2 separate regions of the Homo sapiens genome follow, and region 2 is linked to region 1. Evidence: promoter capture Hi-C in 16 types of primary human blood cells and fetal thymus (Javierre and others, 2016). All regions are on one chromosome and are shown on one strand. The core of a region is centred on a gene start or on the middle of the fragment in contact, and the rest is flanking DNA. Distances in the headings are between cores, read along the strand shown.

What was found. The method cuts DNA at HindIII sites, captures the fragments that hold promoters and counts their contacts. A CHiCAGO score of 5 or more calls a contact.
Region 2: a fragment that was not itself captured here is called in contact with the fragment with the promoter of GCOM1 in region 1 in 2 of 17 cell types (naive CD4 T cells and naive B cells); the score reaches 7.3 in naive CD4 T cells.

Annotation. Positions count from the first base shown.
Region 1 is chr15:57,588,537-57,594,296 of GRCh38, reverse strand. It overlaps GCOM1 (GCOM1, MYZAP-POLR2M combined locus), which reads right to left and starts at 2,393. Exons shown (of 17, transcript NR_104371.3): 1 at 2,188-2,393. MYZAP (myocardial zonula adherens protein) reads right to left here and starts at 2,393. Exons shown (of 13, transcript NM_001018100.5): 1 at 2,188-2,393. The coding sequence starts at 2,262. RefSeq lists a silencer at 2,395-2,504. The HindIII fragment of the contact is 3,808 bases long and covers 1,600-5,407 here.
Region 2 is chr15:57,708,017-57,713,776 of GRCh38, reverse strand. It overlaps GCOM1 (GCOM1, MYZAP-POLR2M combined locus), which reads right to left. Exons shown (of 17, transcript NR_104371.3): 15 at 4,419-5,063; 16 at 1,589-1,793. It overlaps POLR2M (RNA polymerase II subunit M), which reads right to left. Exons shown (of 4, transcript NM_015532.5): 2 at 4,419-5,063; 3 at 1,589-1,793. Among named protein-coding and RNA genes, the nearest start is that of POLR2M, 4.2 kb to the right of the region's middle. The HindIII fragment of the contact is 4,237 bases long and covers 2,217-5,760 here.

The DNA.
Region 1 (5,760 bases), core at 1,144-3,643:
TAAAAATACAAAAATTAGCCAAGCATGGTGGTGTGCGCCTGTAGTCCCAGCTACTCGGAAGGCTGAGGCAGGAGGACTGCTTGAACCTGGGAGGTGGAGGCTGCAGTGAGCCGAGATCGTGCCATGGCACTCCAGCCTGGATGACAAAGTGAGACTCCATCTCAAAAAAACATACCTTTAGTGAGAGGCCTTCCCCTGATGCCTCAGGAAGAACCTTTATTTTAGCTTCTACAGAACTTTGTAAACTCTTCACCCCACTATAACCATCACCACTTTGTTTGATGTTAGTTTGGGAAAATGTCTGCCTCTACAGGTAGGGCGGACCCCAATGCCAGCCCTTTACCACACAGAGAAAGGTTTATGAATGTTCAATAAATCAATTAATCAACATCTCACAGCTTCCCACCACACACACAATCCCCAGCACACACACAGATAGTACTTGTAACATCTGCAAATCATGAGCAGAGCTAGAAACCATAAAGATGGGCAGAACCCTAGACCCTTTAGATACCTTCCTTCCAGAAACAAGTACCAGTGTACCCAGGACAGCCCTGAATGGCCTGATCCCGAGCCCTGAGTTCTCCAGTCCAAAATACGTCTGCCATCTTATTCAAAAGGCAAAGTCTTTTCAAGAGTGTCACAATGTGTCCGACAGCAAAGCACCTATAATTAAATAAATATTCCAAAGGAAACGTTTGACCCAAAATCTTCAGAAATGTTATTTGTATACTAGTCACATTTGTATCAACCCACCGTATTAGGTTAGGTACCCCAACTAATCCCCACCTCTGGAAGGGAAGTTACAGAGAATTTCATGCAATTCATGCAGTCTGGTCACACATATGATCCTCTCAGGGCTCAGGGTTAGCTTTTCAGTGACTTCATTCTTTCTCAGTTGCAATTGTGTTCAAATTGAGAAAGATTTCCATAGAAAAATACAAACACCCAACTTAGAGTAAGGCCAGGACTGTGGTTGGAAACCCCCTTGGACCCAATGTAGATCTTACTCTATGATGCTAATGATTGGACAACTGGAGTTCTGTCAACCTTGGGCATGAGCCAACTGATGGATTCTGGGGTGTGTGTGTGTGTGTGTGTGTGTGTGCGCCTGTGTACACAACCTAAGTGTCTGGTGAGTGCACGCACACACACACCCCAGAATCCATCAGTTGGCCCATGCCCAAGAGTAACACACCTTTCTTCTAGAGCTAAGAAAGACAGCTTATAAGGTGACCACCATCACTCGCTTAAGGCATGTAAAAGCAAATAAGCAGGTCCAAGCCTGCACGCAGACAGAACCAGTGGGGGTTTTGCTTTGGACTTAACCACCTGTTTAAATCTTGAGGAAACACGATTACAGAAGTCTCAATCAGAGCAAAGAGGTACCAAATGATAAGTATTGAACATCATGATAAATGGAAGAACTAAAAAGCCACAAGCCAAGCCCCTGGCTGTGGCTCTAAGGTGCTGACCGTGTTAGAAAGATGGAGCATTTCTTTTACAGAGCATCTGGAGAGATGGGAAAAGATGCCACAAAGATCAAAAAGAAACAGCACTTCCAAAGGGAAACCTTCCCTGGAGATGCTGTCCCAAGCTTTCAGTGCTGCCATTGTTGTCACTGTGCTAATATTTAAATCAGACAGAAGAAAGTGGTTTACATAAACCGGAGTCCCACACAGTCGGGCTCCTGGGCGGCCGGCTGCTGTTCTGGTTTGCCCACCTTGGCTAACCCCACTCCAGAATTACCCTATCACTAGTGGATACCCTATCACTAGTGGACACAAGTGACCCCATCTTTCTTTTAATTAATGGAAGAAGGAAAGTTTGAGTTTTAAATACATTCATTACTTTTGAGTCTCAAGGTAGGGACACTGCACAAATGTCTTCCTTCATTTTTAAACTGGTGCCGCCAATAAACTCGGCTTGACAGAAAGGCAGGAAGGAGAGGAAATCTCTGGGAATTCCATAAAGTCCCCTAAGCCCTCTCCTACCAGCTGGTGGGCCCCCTGAAACCTCAAGCGGGAGGGTCACTGCCAGAGCCGGCACAGGACCGGGGAGTTGAGCCCAGGGTGGGGCGTCGGGGCCAGGTGCTGGCTCCCGAGCTTTCCCATCCCTAGTCCCCTCTAGAGGGGGCGGCCGGGATGGGGGAACGGGACGGCGGCGGCTCCCGCCCCCGCTACTCACCCTCCTGCTGGGCGCCCCGGGCGTCCTGGCGGCGCCGCCCGAGAGCAGGGTGACCGTGGACGTGGAGCGCAGCATCCCGCAGCGGCGGTCGGTAGCGGGCTGGACGCCGGCGTTCCTCCCGGGCAGAATAAGCGTGCGGGGCCCGCCCTGCGCGGGGGCGACGCGGGACGGCGCCGGCTACTTGCAGCCTCAGCTGCACCGCGAAGGCCCGGGGGTGGGGCCGGGGGCGGGGCCGGGCCGGGCCGGGGCGGGGCCGAGCGCGCTCACCCGACCCGTCAGGCTGCATTTTCTCCCGAGGGCGCCGACCCGGTTAAAGTTGAGCACCATCCTCTCCCAGGGCGCTGCGCCCTCCCAGGGTCAGTCCCAGGGCAAGAAGGAGCCCTGGACAGCCTGGACGCCCATGCTCTCTCTGTCCCCCGCAGAGTTGAGATCCACCTGCCCATTCAGTCTCACGACCTACCCCCACCCCGGACTGCCCCCTACAGCCTCTGCACGCCCTCGTATCACTGGGACCCTCACCCCATGTCATTCATTCAGTATTTCCTGAATGCCTATTATGCGTCCCCACCAGCAGCCAACCCAGTCGACTGGCTGTTGGCCTCGGAGAGTTTGCAGTGTGGTGGGGATGACAGGTGCCGGGCTGTGGTAGAAGAGGAGATACCATGTACTAAGGGAGCACACAGCCAACCTCAGAGGAGGTGATGACTAAGCTAAGACCTGAAATGCAAGTAGGAGTGGGCCACACTGCCCATATTTATTCAATGATTACTGTGGGCCTGCCTGGCGAGCACTTTGCGTGTGTTACCTCATTTAATCCTCACCATTGCCCTTTGAGGGAGTCACTGTTGTTACCTTGTATCCCCATTTTGCAGATGAAGACGCTGACTCACCTAGGGATTGAGCAACACAGCAGGCGACCCACTGGCCTCTCAGTGGCAAAGGTAGGATATGAATCCCCCAGTCCGACCCTAGTGCCTTGCTTGTCCCCTCTGCTGTCCCCTAACAGAGGGAGGAGGGAGTCCCAGGTCAAAAGAACTAGCATGCACAAAGATGGAAGGAAAGCAAGGGAAGGTATAAAATATGTTTCAAGAATTGGAAGTATCACAGTGCAGTGGGAAAACAGTGGAGAAGCAGCGGAAGGGAGCTGAGGACATCATGAGGAACCTGTGTGCTTAGCTGGAAATTTGGCCTTTATCTTGAGGACAAAGTGTTTTTCAGCAGGGAAAGACACAATCTCTGTCTTCAAAGCCCAGGTCAAGCACTGCCTCCCCACGGAGCTCTCCAGAAACCCCTTCCCCAAACACGCATGCTCAGGAACTTAGCAGCTCCGCGGGACCCTGTCTTCTGTTAGAGTTATCTATGTGTGTGCCTGTACCCTGTCCTTCTGGAGGGCAGAGGCCAGGCCTTGACCCTCTCTGAATGCCCAATGGCACCAACAGGGAAGATGCTGAAAAAAAAATGTTGCTAAACAGAATTACAGATGATCCTGTGGAACTCACTCCTTTTGTAGATGAGGAAACTGAGGCCGGTGTATACAAGTGACTTTCCCAAAGTTGCACAGCCTGTTCTTCACCATCCTCATCGTCATCCTCACAGTAGCTGTGCTTGTGTCCTAAGTGCTTTATATGCATTTTCTCAACCAATTCTCACAATGCCCCACAAGGTGGGCTACAGTTATCGCCCCTGTTTTGCAAATGAGGAAACTGAGGCCAGAGACATTAGGTTAATTGGTGAACAGCTGAGACTACACATCTAGTCTTCTAACCCAAGTCCTTCTGCTTTTCTGCTACACTCCTCTCTGCATCCTCCCATCCACCTATCCCTTCCAAAAAGAAAATTGTTCATGACAGGTTCCTTCCCATTCCACTTCCACGAAGCCCTCTAATCTACCCAAGTCTTTTTCATATTGTTAACATCCTATTCACACGGTGTTATATTTCTTTACAAAAGCAGCAGACAGCTCACTAGCTTGTGAGCTCTGTGTAGAAGCTGGATCTTGTTTACATCTCTGCCTGTCCAATATCTAGAGCAGGTAATTGACGTGTGGTAGTGCAAGTAAATGTGGAAAGAATGAAGAAATGTTATTACAGAGTAAGATTTCAACTCACTCATGGTCATGAAAAACAGAAACTAAGATCCTTGCCAACCCAGCTCCTAGGGTGGGCCAGGGACTCCAAGCAATTTGGCAGCTGAAGCAACAAGAGCCCCAGGGTTGTCCCAGCCAGGCCATTTCCCCAAAGCTGGCTGACAATCGCCAAGGGCTGTGGGTGGTGTGTCCAGGCAGATGCCAGGCCCTGGCTTATGCCACAGCTCCTCCCTAATAGGCCAGCACTAGGAATCTGAGGTCATAAGGAACTGCAAGAGAGAGGAGAGTGGGGAGCCCAGAAAGTGGGAAAGAAGGAAAATGGGAAGACAAGTAGGACTGAAATCAATGGAAAAGTGGATCTAGAGTGGAGAGGAAAAAGTAAAAAATGAAGTCACAGTCACTGGTTTCCATTAATATTTCTGAGAGAAGATGATTTTTAAAAAAAGATGGACTCTTTTCAAAAGAGGAATCAAAAGCTGAGAACTTCTGCCCAGTCAGCAGTCCTCTGGAGTCTACAGAACTGAGAGTGGGGAAGAGGGCCAATGGGAGGGGAACAGGGATAAGGGTCTGGTGTAGAAGTTCTCCACATTCCCTTGCAACATGACTCATCTACTCCAGACCCTCTGAGCATTGGTGATGAAGGGGTTGCTAGTGTTTGGGCTGGAGAGAACGGGAGCTATGACAAAACTGTCTTAGCTGTCATCCTTTTCTATCCACAGAAATAGCCACATAGGCCTAAGAGCAGTCCTGAATTTCTCTGCTAAAGCACAGGTGTGTAGAAAATTCCAGATGTCTGTATAAGCACCCTTCATTTTCTTGTAATCAGTTACTGAATTTTACCTCCTTCTCCCATCCCAGTTCCTAGAATTATCTTTCATATCCTCTAGGTCTCTGCTTCTGAATTGTCTTTGTTGCTTTCTGCTAAACTCTTTCCAAATTCCATTGGCATCTTTAGTTGAGAGGCTTATGATAGGACCCTTTTCTCCAGCAAAGTCCTGAGCAGCAATGACTCATTATTTCTTGCACAAATGATCAAGAGTTAAATCACTGGACAAGAGCACACAGTAGATGAACCCAAGCAATTCTGGCCCTCCTGATATTTCATGCCCTCTTCACTCTTATATCTCTGAAGCTTCTCTTTCTTTCTCTCCCATTCAGCTGCGACAGCATCCCGAAGTCCTGGCATATTCTCCCATTCTGCATGCCAAACAGACCAAACTTTCACAATAGAAAAAGGACACATTTCCAACCAAGGACAAGGGTAATACATTACAAAGCCCCTTTGGATAAAGTAGAACAAGAAACACCCCATATTCACAGGTTGTCCGAGAAACAGGGAATGGGGCCTAGAGATAAGAAAGGCAGGCTGAAAGGAACCCAAAACCCCAGCCAAGTCATCCAGATACACAGCAGTTATAGGCCTGTCTAGACACAAGGGCTGGAACCACTTGCTGATCCACCCTGGGGAATACAAGCTCATTGGAAAT
Region 2 (5,760 bases), core at 3,086-5,585, 120 kb before region 1:
TTCCCTAATTACAATCATGACTTCCAGACTTGGGAATTACATTTCAATGGCAAAATGAAAATCAAGAAATTAATACTAAAAAGCTGACTATTCCTCTCCAAATAAAGTCCTACAGCAACTAGTATCCAATAAAAAGTCCAAGTAAATTTCAGACACTGGCAATGTACTTAAAAACTCCCAAGGACTTTACCACCAACTGATGGTAGGTGGCAATGTCATTCCTAATTCAGTTCTTCCCTTTTCTCATGCTTTCTTGAACTTCTTGATGTCCTCCTCTTCAAGCCATGAATATGGGTCAGTAAAAGTGGGAGCTATTACCACTACAACTTCTCTGCTAAAAAAAAACAATTTAAAGATGAAGGGTTTAATTCAACCTAAAAATATCTTAGGACAGGCATTTAAGAGCTCAGAGACAGTAAACACTTCCTCAATGCTACAGCCATAACTAGACAGTCATTTTAATGCACTGAAAGAAAAATGGTTTTTTTCAAAAAGAGCACCTTGATAATGCCAATCCATGCCAAGGCTTTTATGAAAAGCCAAAGCAGATTAACAGCCTGTTTTGTTGTTTTTTTTTTTGAGACAGGGTCTCACTCTGTCACCCAGGCTATACAGAGTGCAGTGGTGTGACTGCGGCTCACTGCAGCCTCGACCTCCTGAGCTCAAGCAATCCTCCTACCTCAGCCCCACAGGTAGCTGGAACCACAGTTGCATGCCCCAATGCCCGGCTAATTTTTTGGTAAAGATGGAGTCTAGCTATGTTGCCCACGCTGGTCTCGAACTCCTGAACAGTCTGGTGTTATACTAGTTGGTGCACTAGTACCTGACTAAAATCTAGCTAATCAATACCTAGGAAGTGAGACAGGATACTGTTCTCCTGGAGGCTAAAATTATTACTAAATACTTCTAAACTTTTCTGTTCCCCTATGGTCCTTCACACTTATTTTCTCCCATCCCATTATTCTGTATACAAACTCTCAACATACATGTTTGAAGTTCAATGCAAAACACATGGAAACAAAGTGCTATGCAAAATTGATTAAGCTGCCAAAAGCAGGAGATATTTCTCTCTTCACATGGGCCTGCAGATTATGCTCTAAAGCAGTGTCTCACTGTCTGCTGGCTACACAACATTATCCTCCCACTCCTTCTATGCCCTCCCCTGTACTGCAGAAGATGGAAGCCTGGGAACTACATTCTCCTCATTCTCTAACAAGGGGTCTGGGTTTGAGTCCGCCACTGAGAAGCTGTCACATGAGTTTTACAAGGTGAAAGGGAGAGATGCGATGCTACTACTATCCTAACAGGAACAGGCAGGTAAATGAGCTTTAAGACATGAAATTCTACAAGTCTCCCCACATCTCCAGGCAAATCACCACTTTAATGTTGAAGGTAGCTGTGATCATCTCTAGCTACTTCCTGCAGTTCTAGCAACTTTGTGACTCTCTGAAAACTAGTGGCATAGATCTGAGCTCATGGAAGCACCTAATCCCCTCTATTCCATTCCTTCCTCCTTGAACCTGGAGTAAATTCTAGCTTATGTAAGCAGCACCCAACAAACAGACAAGAAAAAAAATACTCTAAATACCTCATAATTCTGTTTCTGCTGTTTCTGAAGTGCCAAGGATTCTTCTATGGAGAGCAGCTGCGTGGGCATATGGTGAAGTGGTAGAAGCCGAGCTGCTGTGATGTCATCAAGATGCTGCTTATCCCTGCGCCGCCGCTCTTCTGAGGAAATAGGAGACCCACTCTTCTGGCAATGACTAGATGAATCATTTTGTCGAAAAGGTAACCTGATGAAAGGAAAACTTGTGTTATACAATCAGATTATTTTATTTGTAGACACATTTAAAACATTCACACAAATGGCCTTTACCTTAGCAATTAATTCTCCTCCAAAGGTAACAGTAAGTAATTTACCAGTATTCATTGCTCTAACAAATAGGGGTGTGTTTGTGTGCATACAGGCTCTTTGCCTTTTCCTTCCTTATTCAAACCTTGTATTTCATCTGGAGTTTTTTTTTTTTTTTTCATTTATTCAAAGAACATTTGCAAAAGGGCTTATTGCCCAGTAGAAAGAAATACACATGTAAAGTTTCAGTGCAATACAATACCAGAGATACTGTGATAGATATCTCAACAAGATACATTGGAACATAAGGAAATGGCCAGTTCTAGTGGGAGACAGGGAGGCTAAGAAAAGTTTCAAAAAAGCTTTGAACAGTCTTGGAATAATAACTGCTTACCCATGTAAATAAGGAGAGAAGTGCATCCCAGCAAGGGGAGTGAGAGAAAGTACAGAAGGTAGACAGACTCAGCTTTTCTGGCTACACAGAAAAGACAGCGAGAAAGAGGGCTGGGAAGTAGCCTAGGCCCAGACTGCAATGAAGAGTTCTCCGTAACAAGTTCGGATTTCCATCTTACAAATTTCACTCTGGCAGCAGTGGAGATAGACTGGTAGTTAAGACTAGAGGTAGAAGGGGCCACAATTACAGCCCGAGAGAGATGAGAGTCTTCACTTCGACAGAAGATGAAGAACAATTATAGAGATGAAGATCAAAGAAATAAGTAGGTCTTCATGGCTAGCAGATATGGAGATGAGAAAAATCGAAGATACCTTAGGGGAAGAAAACCGAGAAGGTGGTGGCACTATTAGGGAATATGGAAATCACCTTGGAAAGAAACTGCAGTTCCACTTTGTACATCATTAAGCTGAGGTACCTGGGAACACCCAAGTGATCAAGTTTCATGGTTAATTGGCTATGCAAACCTAAAGTTCTGGGAAGATCTGGGATAGAGGTGCACAGGGGTCAGCCTCCAGCATCCAGGTGATACATGAAGCCAGAAGAGTATGCAGAAGGAAGAGCAGAAAGGACCCAAAGGACACTACCTGACCCCACCTTCCAACCTCCAAGCCACCTCTCACACGGAACCCTCTCAATCCCTACCTGTCTATGGCCTAAGGACTCCTCAAAGCCCTGCCTTTCCTGTTCTCCTCTAACTTATACAGGAGGCTCCCTGTCTCTTAAACTTCCTGAATTCTTGGTAGCCCTCTTCACTATTCCCTTACCTCTCTCCCACTCCCAGCTAAATGACCATAATACAGAACTGGGATTAATGTATTCTTTGTTTTATTTATTGACTAGATGATGGTTCTAGTTTTCTAAAATGTCATCCTGGAAGTGAAGAAAGATACCCCACTGTACACAAGAGAGTACTTGATCACGTTAATGTAGTATAATCCTGATTTTCTATACAGCAGAAATAAAATGTTTTGAGGTTAAAATGAATGCTGGGGTAGAATTAAAGTCTAACAAAAAAGAAGCATGTTTTAGATACTTTTCACTAGAGGTTTTCTGTTTTTCAAAGAAAGGTAGTAGTGATTTAACTTTGATGTTACATACTTGTAAATACAATATAGGAAGAAGGTACCAGTTACCTGAGTTGAATGTTACATTTGCTGCAAGTAAATAGCAATTATTTTCAAAAAGATTTTACTTTTCCTGAAATTTCAGAAACAAATTTATGGCAAGGAACTGATAAGCAGAGTTTTTGCCTATCCTGCCTGAATCTATTTTCACAGTTTTTCAAACCTCTTCTCAGCTTCCTTCCCCCTGAAACTGTTATTATTATGTAGCTTAACTCTTTTCCAAGTGTGTAAACCTTGGGTCCTCATGTAGCTCTTAAACTCCTTGAAGAACATGGTATTGTATTACATTACACATGTATACATTACAGCCATGTTTTTAAACTTGAGATTTAACATCAAAAAAGGCAAAGGAGTTTTAAGAATCTTGACTTAATTGTGTCCCCACAACACCTGCTGCTTGCTTACATACAGTGAGCATGCAAATAATTTCTGCTGGAAAGCCCATCAGCTCCTGCAATTGCTTTACCCTTAGTTCACAGACTAATCAAAGAGAGTACACTTTGATAGTACACTAATCAAAGCTGTACACTAAAAAATGGTTCTGAAAAAAAGAAGTCATAATAAATTCTCTCCAACTCTGTGTTTATTATGAAATACTGGCTAAGCATCCTAAAATTTAACACTCCCCCATGTGCTTTAAAAGACCTTGTCGATTATTTGGTTTCAAAACTAAATATTTTTCAACATGAATCTTCTACTCCGGCCAGGCTGGTCTCAGTGTTGCCACAACATGTTATTTCCTAACTACAAGTAGTTCTCATACAAAGCCCACGGAACTTAGAGCATTCTCCTGACTTATTTAAGAGAAAAGGTCTTATTATATTGCCCAAGCTGGTCTACAACTCCTGGACTCAAAGCTGTCTTCCCACCTCAGCCTCCTGAGTAGCCTGGGACTACAGGCAAGCACCACCACACCCAGTTTCTCGTAAATTTTTGAGTTTAACAAATATCACGTTCCTGTTACAGGCCTGTTTCCGAGGGTACTTACACATTGGTTTTAAATTTACGCAGCTGGGGCACTGGGTTTTTGGCTCGCATTTCTAGCACTTCCATGTAATGAGGTTTCTTCTCAGTCCCACTGGAAAGGCCTGTCAAGTTCTTAGTACTTGCGTTTTCTTCTGACTGTTGTTCACCTTGGTCCGCAATGGTGATCCTCTGTAACCTGTCAATAAACAGGTTGTCAAAGCTGCTGGAAGTATCTTCCGCTTGACTTGAAACACGATGCCGCGGGTGATGCTCACTAGCTTCAGATGAAGGTGGTACCCTGTCTCTATTGCTGGAAGCTGGGCCCTTATTCACTGTGTACTCAACCTCTGAAGTCTCTTCATCACCTTCAAGAGTAGGACGTCCAAGTCCCTGGTTTTGTGAGGTTTGAGATGACTTGATGTTATCTACAGAGGAACATCCAGGAACTAGTGATGAAGTATCAAGTATCGGGTCAGAATTCTGGGCCTTATCTGTACCCACATCAACTTCTGCAATTGCTTTTTGCCTTAGCTTACAGTCTAAACTAACAGGGTTAAACAGTTCACTTTTTCTTCTAACTTCTTCACATTCTGCAATGGCAGCTTTCAGTTTGGCAAAAGAGTCAAAGATCTTTTTACCTTTGTCGGGCAATTTGCAAATGAATTTTCTGTCAAATGGAAAAGAATACTATTACATTACAGCCATTTTTTTAACTTGAGATATAACATTAAAAAGGCAAGGCATTATCTTCAAAGAAAGAAAAGCTGATTTTTAAGTCAAATATCTGATTTCTAACTGCCCCAAAACAAGAATAAAACAATTAAAATGGTCATTATCCAAATAGCCCAAAAAACAAGGGAATGCAGGAAGAATAGGGAATATATGCCTCATTTGTCTCAGCAAATTAGAATTTCAGCAAAAGTATTTTAAGCATATAATAATCACATAAGACATTCCAAGAACCAGCAGTCATTAAAGTGCAATCTCCAAAATTTGGGGATGGGGTGGAGTGTGGGGATGGGCCTATTAGGTCAAAACTACTTTCATAATAATACTAAGATATTATTTCCCTCTCATTTTCTCGCATGGGTACAGTGGAGTTTTCCAGAGGCTACATGGCATGTGATGACATCATTGTTCTAGAATAGAATGTGTGCTTGTGTATGCTTATGTTTTAAAGACTTCAGACGTATTTCTGATAAGTAAATACATTTCGCTAGATACAACACATAAAATAGCTCTTTGGGATGTCAATAATTCTTAAAGTATAACGGAGTCCTGAGACCAAAAAGTTAATTCACTGCTATACATTCAAAACCTATTCTCACAAGGTCAAAACACATGTCTTGATCCCAACCAATTAT